3 separate regions of the Homo sapiens genome follow, and all the other regions are linked to region 3. The links are contacts of gene promoters, found by promoter capture Hi-C in blood cells and fetal thymus (Javierre and others, 2016). All regions are on one chromosome and are shown on one strand. Each heading gives the region's core, a stretch centred on a gene start or on the middle of the fragment in contact. The rest is flanking DNA. Distances are from core to core; before and after follow the strand shown. Region 1 holds the start of MGST2 (microsomal glutathione S-transferase 2). Region 2 has its middle 5.3 kb from the start of SETD7. Region 3 holds the start of ELMOD2 (ELMO domain containing 2).

The links. The method cuts DNA at HindIII sites, captures the fragments that hold promoters and counts their contacts. A CHiCAGO score of 5 or more calls a contact.
Region 1: a contact is called between the fragment with the promoter of MGST2 here and the fragment with the promoter of ELMOD2 in region 3, in 8 of 17 cell types (fetal thymus, activated CD4 T cells, erythroblasts and 5 more). The highest score is 15.3, in fetal thymus.
Region 2: a fragment that was not itself captured here is called in contact with the fragment with the promoter of ELMOD2 in region 3 in 1 of 17 cell types (total B cells); the score reaches 5.4 in total B cells.

What each region holds. Positions count from the first base shown.
Region 1 is chr4:139,664,114-139,667,142 of GRCh38, reverse strand. It overlaps MGST2 (microsomal glutathione S-transferase 2), which reads right to left and starts at 1,324. Exons shown (of 5, transcript NM_002413.5): 1 at 1,066-1,324. The coding sequence starts at 1,123. RefSeq lists enhancers at 1,100-1,269, 566-1,765. The HindIII fragment of the contact is 3,780 bases long and covers 1-2,674 here.
Region 2 is chr4:139,560,088-139,562,890 of GRCh38, reverse strand. No RefSeq gene overlaps it. Among named protein-coding and RNA genes, the nearest start is that of SETD7, 5.3 kb to the right of the region's middle. The HindIII fragment of the contact is 1,271 bases long and covers 697-1,967 here.
Region 3 is chr4:140,522,727-140,525,793 of GRCh38, reverse strand. ELMOD2 (ELMO domain containing 2) reads right to left here and starts at 1,626. Exons shown (of 9, transcript NM_153702.4): 1 at 1,514-1,626; 2 at 224-374. The coding sequence starts at 365. RefSeq lists silencers at 1,265-1,384, 1,575-1,924. The HindIII fragment of the contact is 7,186 bases long and covers 404-3,067 here.

The DNA.
Region 1 (3,029 bases), core at 75-2,574, 860 kb after region 3:
ACCTATTCCGGTTCCCCATGCCCAACTGTGAATCGTTCTTTGCTCAATTAAACTCAGTTAAATGTAATTTGTCTAGGGTTTTCCTTTTAACAGATCTAAGTGCTTCTTTAATTAGAAACAAATATCCTGCTCTTCTCCACAACAGATTGTGTGAATCAAACCACAAAACGTGAGTCTGAAGGTTCAAGATCTTCATACAATCTCAAAACAGACTGGCTAGGCAAGACATTGAGCATGCACGGAGGCCTGGACTGGATCCTCAGCTGTGAGGCCTTCCTGCTTCTGGCTGTTTGTGTAACCTGAGCAGTCTACGGCTTGGCCCTATTTCCTGGTACAGGCATACTTGGAAATATAAAGAAATATGCATGCTTGGTAAGAAGTCTTGCACTCTTGCACTCGGACCCCTTTCCCCAGCTGACATTGTAGGTAAGATAATATGAATTGAGCAAATGTGACTCCCATGGAGTAAAAGCCCTCTATTTAACCAGGCAGTCGAGATATTGAATAATCCTAGTGGGAAGCTGTTTTAAAATTTAGAGCTAATTACTTAATCTAAAGCTAATATTTCTGAAGGAAGTTTTTTTCAATCTGATAATCATACCACCATAGGCAGTTTATTTAAGAAAACACATTAATTAAAACATCAACGTTCAAGAAATCACAACCAGGTTTAGAAGCAGGCACGTTTCCTTTGGAACACTTGTAATTAATATTCACACCACTTCCTGCAGGTTAGCAGGCTACTAACGCTCGTTTGAACGGGCTGTGGGTCGTAATCACAGATGATGCAGAATCGCTGAGCTCTGAGGCCCCACAGCGTTCCAGTTGGGAGAACTAATCTCTGGAATGTTCTCAGTCTCTGCTTGCCCCTGGGAAGGAGGGTAGCAGGCGGCATGGGTGACCCTGAGGCGACTGTGCTCTGAGGACCCAGAGCTACCTGCAAGGGCAAGTAGGAAACAAAACACCGGACCCATCTCCCTCCCTCCCTCTCTCTCCCGCAAGCCTTGTCACACACACACACACACGCACACACGCGCACACACACGAACTTCCCATGCCTCTTACTTTGCTGACAGGCCGAGAGAATAGAGACAGCAGCCAGCAGGATCGAGTTCCCGGCCATCTTTCTCACGGAACTATTTGTAGAGCGCACGGGAAGATAAATGGCGCTTCTTGACTTTGAATGCTGACCTTCCTTATCGGGTAAACAAAGTTGGGGACCGGGTGGGGGGAAAAGGCTGATTCAAGCGGCTGAATGACCTTTGCTCTGGAACAGAAGTCAGGAAGGCAGGCAGGTCTGGGGCTGCCGGTCACAGATCTTTATGGGGCTGGGAGTTGCTTCCGGCGTTTGTTTTAAGCCTCTCCCACGGCCAGCGGGCAGGGCTGTAGCTCACTGTGGGACCAGCCCTCCAGCCGCAGTGCCAGTTACACTATCTTCTCTGCCAATGCACAGACTCTCTGGATCCCTTTCATCCCCACGCCCTTCCCTCCTAGGGCCTTGCTGAGACCTTTCTCACCTCCTGTGGAAAAAGTGAGAAGGAACTACTTACTTAATCCTGTTGACATTTTAAATGCTAATTTAAGCCAGTTCTAATGTATTCACGCTCTGAATGGCCGATTTAGGATTTGAACCCAGTCTAGCAGATTACAACTGTGCCCTATCCCCTGCACCAGGCTGCCTCTCACTGTCACCTAGAGACTCTGATAATAATCATACTTTTTTTTTTTAAGACAGGGTCTTGATCTGTCACCCAGGCTGGAGTGTGTGGTGGCACGATCATAGCTCACTGCAGCCTCCAACTCTTGGGCTTAAGTAATCCTCCTGCCTCAGCCTCCCAAGTAGCTAGAACTACAGCCACAAGTCACTGTGCCCAGCCATTTTTAAAAAAATAAACCGGCCGGGCGCGATGGCTCACACTTGTAATCCCAGCACTTTAAGAGGCCAAGGAGGGTGAATCACGAGGTCAGGAGATCAAGACTATCCTGGCTAACACAGTAAAACCCCTTCTCTACTAAAAATACAAAAAATCAGCTGGGCATGGTGGCACGAACCTGTAGTCCCAGCTACGCAGGAGGCTGAGGCAGGAGAATCTGCTCTTTAGAGATGCAGATTCTGGCCTGGAAGGATGGCTCATGCCTGTAATCCCAACAGTTTGGGAGGCTGAAATGGGCAGATGGTTTGAGCTCAGGAGTTCGAGACCAGCCTGGGTAACATGGCAAAACCCCATCTCTTAAAGAAATACAAAAATTAGCAGGGCATGGTGGCACGTGCCTGTAGTCCCAGCTACTTAGGGGGCTGAGGCAAGGGGATTGCTTGAACCCAGGAGCCTGAGACTGCAGTGAGCCAAGGTCGTTCCACTGCACTTCAGCCTGGGTGACAAAGTGAGACCCTGTCTCAAACAAATAATAAAAATAAAGATGCAGCTTCCCAAAAACCAGAGCTGGGGGCCTTTCCTCACCCCATCCTACAGCACCATTAGAGGGTATATCTTGGCTCAAGCTGCTATAACAAAGATACCATAGACTGGGTGGCTTACAATAGCAATTTATTCGTCACAGTCCTGAAGGCTGGGAAGTCCAAGATGACAGTGCTGGCCAATCAGTTCCTGGTGAGGGCCCTCTTCCTGGTTTGCAGAAGGACACCTTCATGTTGGAGACAGAGAAAGAGTAAGCTTCCTGGTCACTTCTTATAAGGGCACAGATCCCATTATGGGGGCCTATGCTCATAACCTCACCTGTAGCTAATTATCTGCCAAATGCCTGATAACATCACGTTGGGGGTTAGGGTCTCAACATATGAATTGCAGAGGGGACACAAACATTTAGTCCCTAGCAGGGAGCTCCCAGTGTCTTCTGGGGAGGGCAGTTGCCTCAGCCTCACACAGACCCTACAATTTAATAACACAACCTTGGGCCTCTCTGAGCCTCCATTTAATAAGATAGGGCTAATAAGAGCTGAAGAGAAGTTTAAATGACATAATCCTATTCTAAGGATTGAATTAGTTAATACTTATAGAGCACTTAAAACA
Region 2 (2,803 bases), core at 83-2,582, 960 kb after region 3:
CATTTCAGTGCCAGGTCCCAGAAACACTCTAATCAACCTGTCTTTGTTTGTGACTGAGTGAAGAGGACCACATGGGTATTTTCATTTCTGGATATTGGATTCAAAGCCAGACAGTCCCATTTGGAAAATGAAGAGGACACTTTGCCCTCCATCTATGTTATAGTAGATGGAATCTGCATCCTCAAGGTGGCGTTCCGTTGCCTAAGCTATCATAGCAAAGAGCCAACCTCTCCACTCCTGCACAGAATAGAAATATCTTTGAGCTGAGTGCCCAGGAAAACTTGGATGACTGTATCACAGGACAGGCCACGTGGGTCTTAATATGTCTCTGGTCTCTTTCTCAGAAATCATGGTAGCCTAAGAAGGTTGGCCCACTGTTGATGGCTTGTGAAGCAGAAATGAGGTGCTTTCCCAAGAACTTGAGAACCAGGTTGCTCTCAGAAAGTTTGACTACCAAAATCTGCACACTCAATGGTTTTGACTAGAATTCAGTGGGCATAAACCAAGAGAGTGACTCAATTTGTGACTGAGAAGTTTGAGGATTACCTCAAATTCCCATTAAAGTGACTTGGCTGTAATGCCAGGAAGATAGAGAATGTCATTATGACTTAGAAAGTGTAAATCTGCCTAATGGGCTGTATAGGACGCTGTGTGGAGAATCAGGTTTGGAGAAACTAGAGCACGGAGAAAGAAGCTTGAAGCCTCAGAAGCCATAGGGCCCATCTAAGCAGAGGTGAGTGGGATGGGTGGGCAGCCTCATTCTTTCAGAACACTGTATCAGAGTATTTGTCTTGTGGACCACACAACTAATGTCCTTCATTCTACTCCAGATAACTAAGCAAACTTTTGGATGGAATTTGTCTTCTCAAGTGCATTTATTTATATAGAGAGATCTTTTGCCCTGACAGTGTGAGTATTCTGATCTGTCCATCATAATTCAGGCATACATCTCAGTCTCTCGGGGTCTAGTTAATGTGAGTCCACTTGAGGAAGGTCAAGAGCTGACCCTTGATGAATGTTATGACATTTGTGGTAAATAGGTCAGCTGGAAATACTCCTCTGCCCATCCTGGATATTGTAGTGTCAAAAGAGTATACCATGTACCTGCCCTCTGCAATGTCTACTTTTGCAGAGGACCAATTGCAGGACTCAATAATCTTAATTTTAGCCTAGTAAAGTAATTTTTCAAAAACAATTAGAGAAAATAATATCTATGAAAACACATTTGGTTTTGGTGGCGGTTTGTCTTTATTTTTCAAGTTTCTGCAATCCTATTGTTTTTCTAAAGTAATTTCTAAAACAGATGCCCCTTTGAAAACTATTTCCAATTTTTCTTTGTGTGTGTGTGTGTGTGTGTGAGGGTTTTTTTTGTTGTTGTTTGTTTTTTTGAGATGGAGTCTCACTCCGTGGCCCAGGCTGGAGTGCAGTGCAGTGATGCCATCTCGGCTCATTGCAGCCTCCGCCTCCCAGGTTCAAGTGATTCTCCTTCCTCAGCCTCCCAAGTAGCTGGGACTACAGGCATGCACCACCAGTTTTTGTATTTTTGTAATTTTTGTATTTTTAGTAGAGACAGGGTTTCACCATGTTGGCCAGGCTGGTCATGAACTCCTGACCTCAGGTGATCCACCTGCCTCTGTCTCCCAAAGCGCTGGAATTACAGGCGTGACCCACCGTGCCTGGCCTCATTTTTTTTTTTTCAATCATTTCACTCAGCAGCTTCACTAGGCCCAAGCCTGACATAAGAGTTTTCATATCCCATAATGCAAAAAACCCCAAGAACTCTGTGAAGGAACAATATTGGCCCAGAGTCGACCCAAACAGGGAGATCTGGGCTGCATCTTCCCTCCCCTCCCCGCCCCAGAAAGTCTAAATTTAGTTTACTGGATACCCTGCAATGACATTAACATGTCATTGCAACATTAACATGTTGCAAAAACAAGAATCAAGCAAAAGAGAAAGAGGAAGCTTAATGTGGCATGAGGTATTTTAATACCATGGCAACTGTGGTGTCTTCTCTATTATTTAATTCACTTCCTTAGGTCAGGTTATTCTGCCCTCTCTCTCTTGCACTTCCTGTTGCTGTAATCAAATCAGGTCACCCTGAATCTGTAAGTCTTCTTCCTGACTGCACTCATGTCTATTTCCAGCAGAATGAATTTTCTCCATTTCTTTCTTTGCTCCCTGGACCTTTATTTGGTGCCCTTGATGTCCCTGCTCTTCCCAGTGCTCCACAAGCTGCAAACGCTTCCCTTTCATCCCCATCTCCTCCCCCACCCGTCTCCTCCTCGCTGCTCCTCTCCCAGCCCCTCCCTCCAGCTTCTGCAGTTGTCACTAACACAGTTAGCCACTTGATTAGTGACTCAGTGATTCAGAACCCAGGAACCTTGGTTCTCCTAAAACTTCCATGCTTCCCTCCCTAGAGTCAAGATAAAGGTTCTCCCCTCACCTGCCTGCCCAGATAGAGCCATTAACGTGAGAGGACTTGAGTATTCAGTTTGTTGGAGTTGCCCTGGCTTCTTCCCATTTCCTTTTTATGTGCCTTTTCCTGGGGCTTCTCAGGCTCTATTTACCTTTTCTCCAGAAAAGGTGGACAGAGAAGGTTTGAGCTTCGAATTTATGTAGCCCAACTCTTCATTTACAGATGGGAAAACGAAGGCCCCCCCCCCGGCCCCCGCAGAACTGAATTGCCCAGTTGCTTGGCTAGTTCTTGGTGGAACCAAAACAGACAAAGCAAAAACTCAATCAAACTGGCTAATTTGGTGGGAAAAAATCTTGTGAAGGAGTGAGCAGTGCCAAAACGAGA
Region 3 (3,067 bases), core at 377-2,876:
GGAGCCAGAGAATTCTTTCCACACATAAGCAATTAAATAACCACTTTTTCTATAAATTCATACAATTTTAGAGCTGAAGGAGTCAAAGCGGGACTTCAGAGCTTATGAAATTCAGTTTAAGTGACTTGTCAGGATACAAAAGAAATACATCTGTCACTGTGAGTCCTGAGAAAAACACTCCGTTAAACTTTTATTAGTACTTTTTCTTTTTGAATAACATTACCTATCCTGTGTGTCCTTTGTGCACCTACATAGGTATCAAATATTCGCTGCAATTCACACTTCCCAGTCATCTGTCGTAATAGCCATTTCATCCAAAATCGAAAAAAGTGCCCATAGAAGAACTCCCACAAAGAAATAAACATTTTTTTTTCCTGGAGGAGGGAAACATACAAGACAAGCTTAATGACCTTAAACTGAATTTTAAAATTTAAAAAGTTTATACAACTGATCAAATCTCAAATTATGTATCTATCATTTCATTGTGTCTGTTTTGACAGTTTAATTAGGCATTTAAAAACAATGGCAGGTGTAATATATACCGCTATTAATTGATGATCAAATGGCCAATTAATCACTTTTTCAAAACTAAAATTCAAACAATGTACTCAAACTATTCAATGGCTTGAAAGAGTAACAGAATGGTTTGCACTTTTTGCTAAATAATTGTATTTCATATCTTAGTTTCCTAACTTCCCATTCTTTGAGAACTGGGGCTCAACAGTTCAAGATCAAGAGGACTCCAACTAATCAACAATTAAAATATATACCAAAACATCAGAGTTGTTTTTATAGAATACACTCTTCTTATCCCATGTGGATAATTCGTTACAACTGTCCCAGTCAGGTGATGCCAGCAAATAAAAACACTACAAACTTAAGTATACAAGTTGAACACTGAGTATATAACACCTTAGCTCATTCTTGATTTTCCATTCAATAGGTCAAGGGCAGAAATACTAACAAGTTTTTGTTTTGCTAAGTACACACTCGATACAACTATATCTTATGCCATAAGAAAATTCTTCAGCTTCTAAATGAAAAAGTCAGGGAGATACTAGTGAGAGGGAGATACTTAAAAACAAAATTGCTCGTCTCCTTCCTGCCTTAAACATTCCCACAGACACGTCACCTCTGGACTAGGGCCTGAGGAGGGACTGTCGAAGTTCGAAGTACCCGCAGGTCAGTGCAGAAAGAGCGCATAGCACAGCTGGGTTGATCATTATCTTGAAAATCAAGCCATCTAGTCCGCGCTCATTAGGACAAAAGCGCAGAACTGCCGAGCAGAGGGGATGCACGCGTAGCGGCGCCTGAGCACCCCAGGGCTCTGGGCGTCTCTGCGCCGACCCCCCTCGCGCGCCGCCCGCGAATGGGAGGGCAGGGCTCGCACAAAGACCCGCCGGCCCAGGCGCCCCCGGGTTCCCGCAGAACCCCGCGGGGCTCGCGAGCCCGCGCGCTCTCAGTGCAGCCGCACCGAGGCATCCGGGGCAAGAGGAAAAGAAACAGCAGCCACCTCACAGGAGCGGAAGAACTAGGGGGAGCAGGAGCTGCCTCGGTTTCCCCACTGCAAACAGCCGGCAACGGAAACGACGGAACACTCCCTTCAAGCACCGCGACCCGGAAGTCAGGGAGCGAGGCCGCGGACCCGCCTTCCCAGGGCCACTGCCCGCCCCGCCCCTCCGGCCTCTTCCGATTGGCCCGCGCTCCACCTATTGCTAACGCTGGAGAGAGGTCGAGCTGAGTGGCCCAGGCGCGAGGGCTCAGATACTAGGGACGCCCAGACGGTTTCCCTGGCAACGGCGGCCAGGAGCCCCGCCCCGCGCCGGAGTAGCGCCTCCTAGCGCTGCGCTGGAGACTTTTCCCTCCTTGAACCTCAGGTCCTTAGCGCGGGTTGACACCTTGTACTATTCCTAGGCTCCAAGCGCGGAAGAAACCCTGTGCTTACGGTAACTTATAGTGCCTTAGTTACAAAAGCGCTTTCATCTGCATTGAATCTTAATTCTGTGAAGTAATTATGAATAACTCCACTTTATGCACGAGAAAAGGGAACCGGCTACTTGACTGTGGCCAATACGTGGCAGATGAGGAAAGTCCATGTGTTGAGAAACGAAGTTTGGACTTTATCCTATAATACTATAGGTCTAAAAGTTAATTTATCAAATGTTTATTCCCTAACTGGTTGTTTTTGTTGAAAAAGTAATTTCGTGATTACTTTTTAAAAACCTCAAGCAGTAAGTTTCTTAATTCAACAAGTATTTGTTGATTGTTAGCACAGGCAGTGTTCCAAAAGGCAGTCAAACACGAAACAAACAGCCAAATATTTAATATGTCAGATGCTACTAAATGTTAAGGGTATAGGGGTTGTTAGCTAAGGGGTAATGGGGAGTCTGTGGGGGAAGTCATTGCATACAGTGTGGTCAAGGAAGTCTCATTATTAACGTGGCATTTTGGCCTCATTGAACGAAGTAAGGGAGTTTACTGTGGGAGTATCTGGAGGGAGAGTGATCCAGGCACCAGAATGACAAGTGCAAAGACCTTGAATTGGGAGGGTTTTTGAAATGTTGGAGGAAGAGCAAGAAGGCCGGGGTGGCTGGAGGAGAAAGAGCAAGGGGGAGAGTAGAATATAAATACAAAGGACAACTGATACTGAAAACAAATTTCCCCATCCACCCAAAACTCCTGATACCTCCGTCACCTTGCTCAGAAGCAACCAGTATTACTTTCTTGTTTCTAATTCCAAAAATATTATATGCAAGTGTATATATGTATATTCCTTCCAACTCCTTGAATTGAAGCAAGTGATACATACTTTCCCACATCTCAACCAGCGTTTAAAAAATGGACTAATTGTAGAACACTAGCCATGTGCAGGGTGCATAAGCCGTCATCCCTGTCCCATACCAACAATGAACTTGGTAATGAAGTCTGGATAGACACTACAATAGTAAAATCACAGAATCTTAAATCTTAAAGAGAACTTATAACTATCATCTAATGTAATTTTTAAAATTATAGATTAAAAGATTTAGAAAGGCAAAGTGCACAGCCGATTTGGCAAATTGACCTG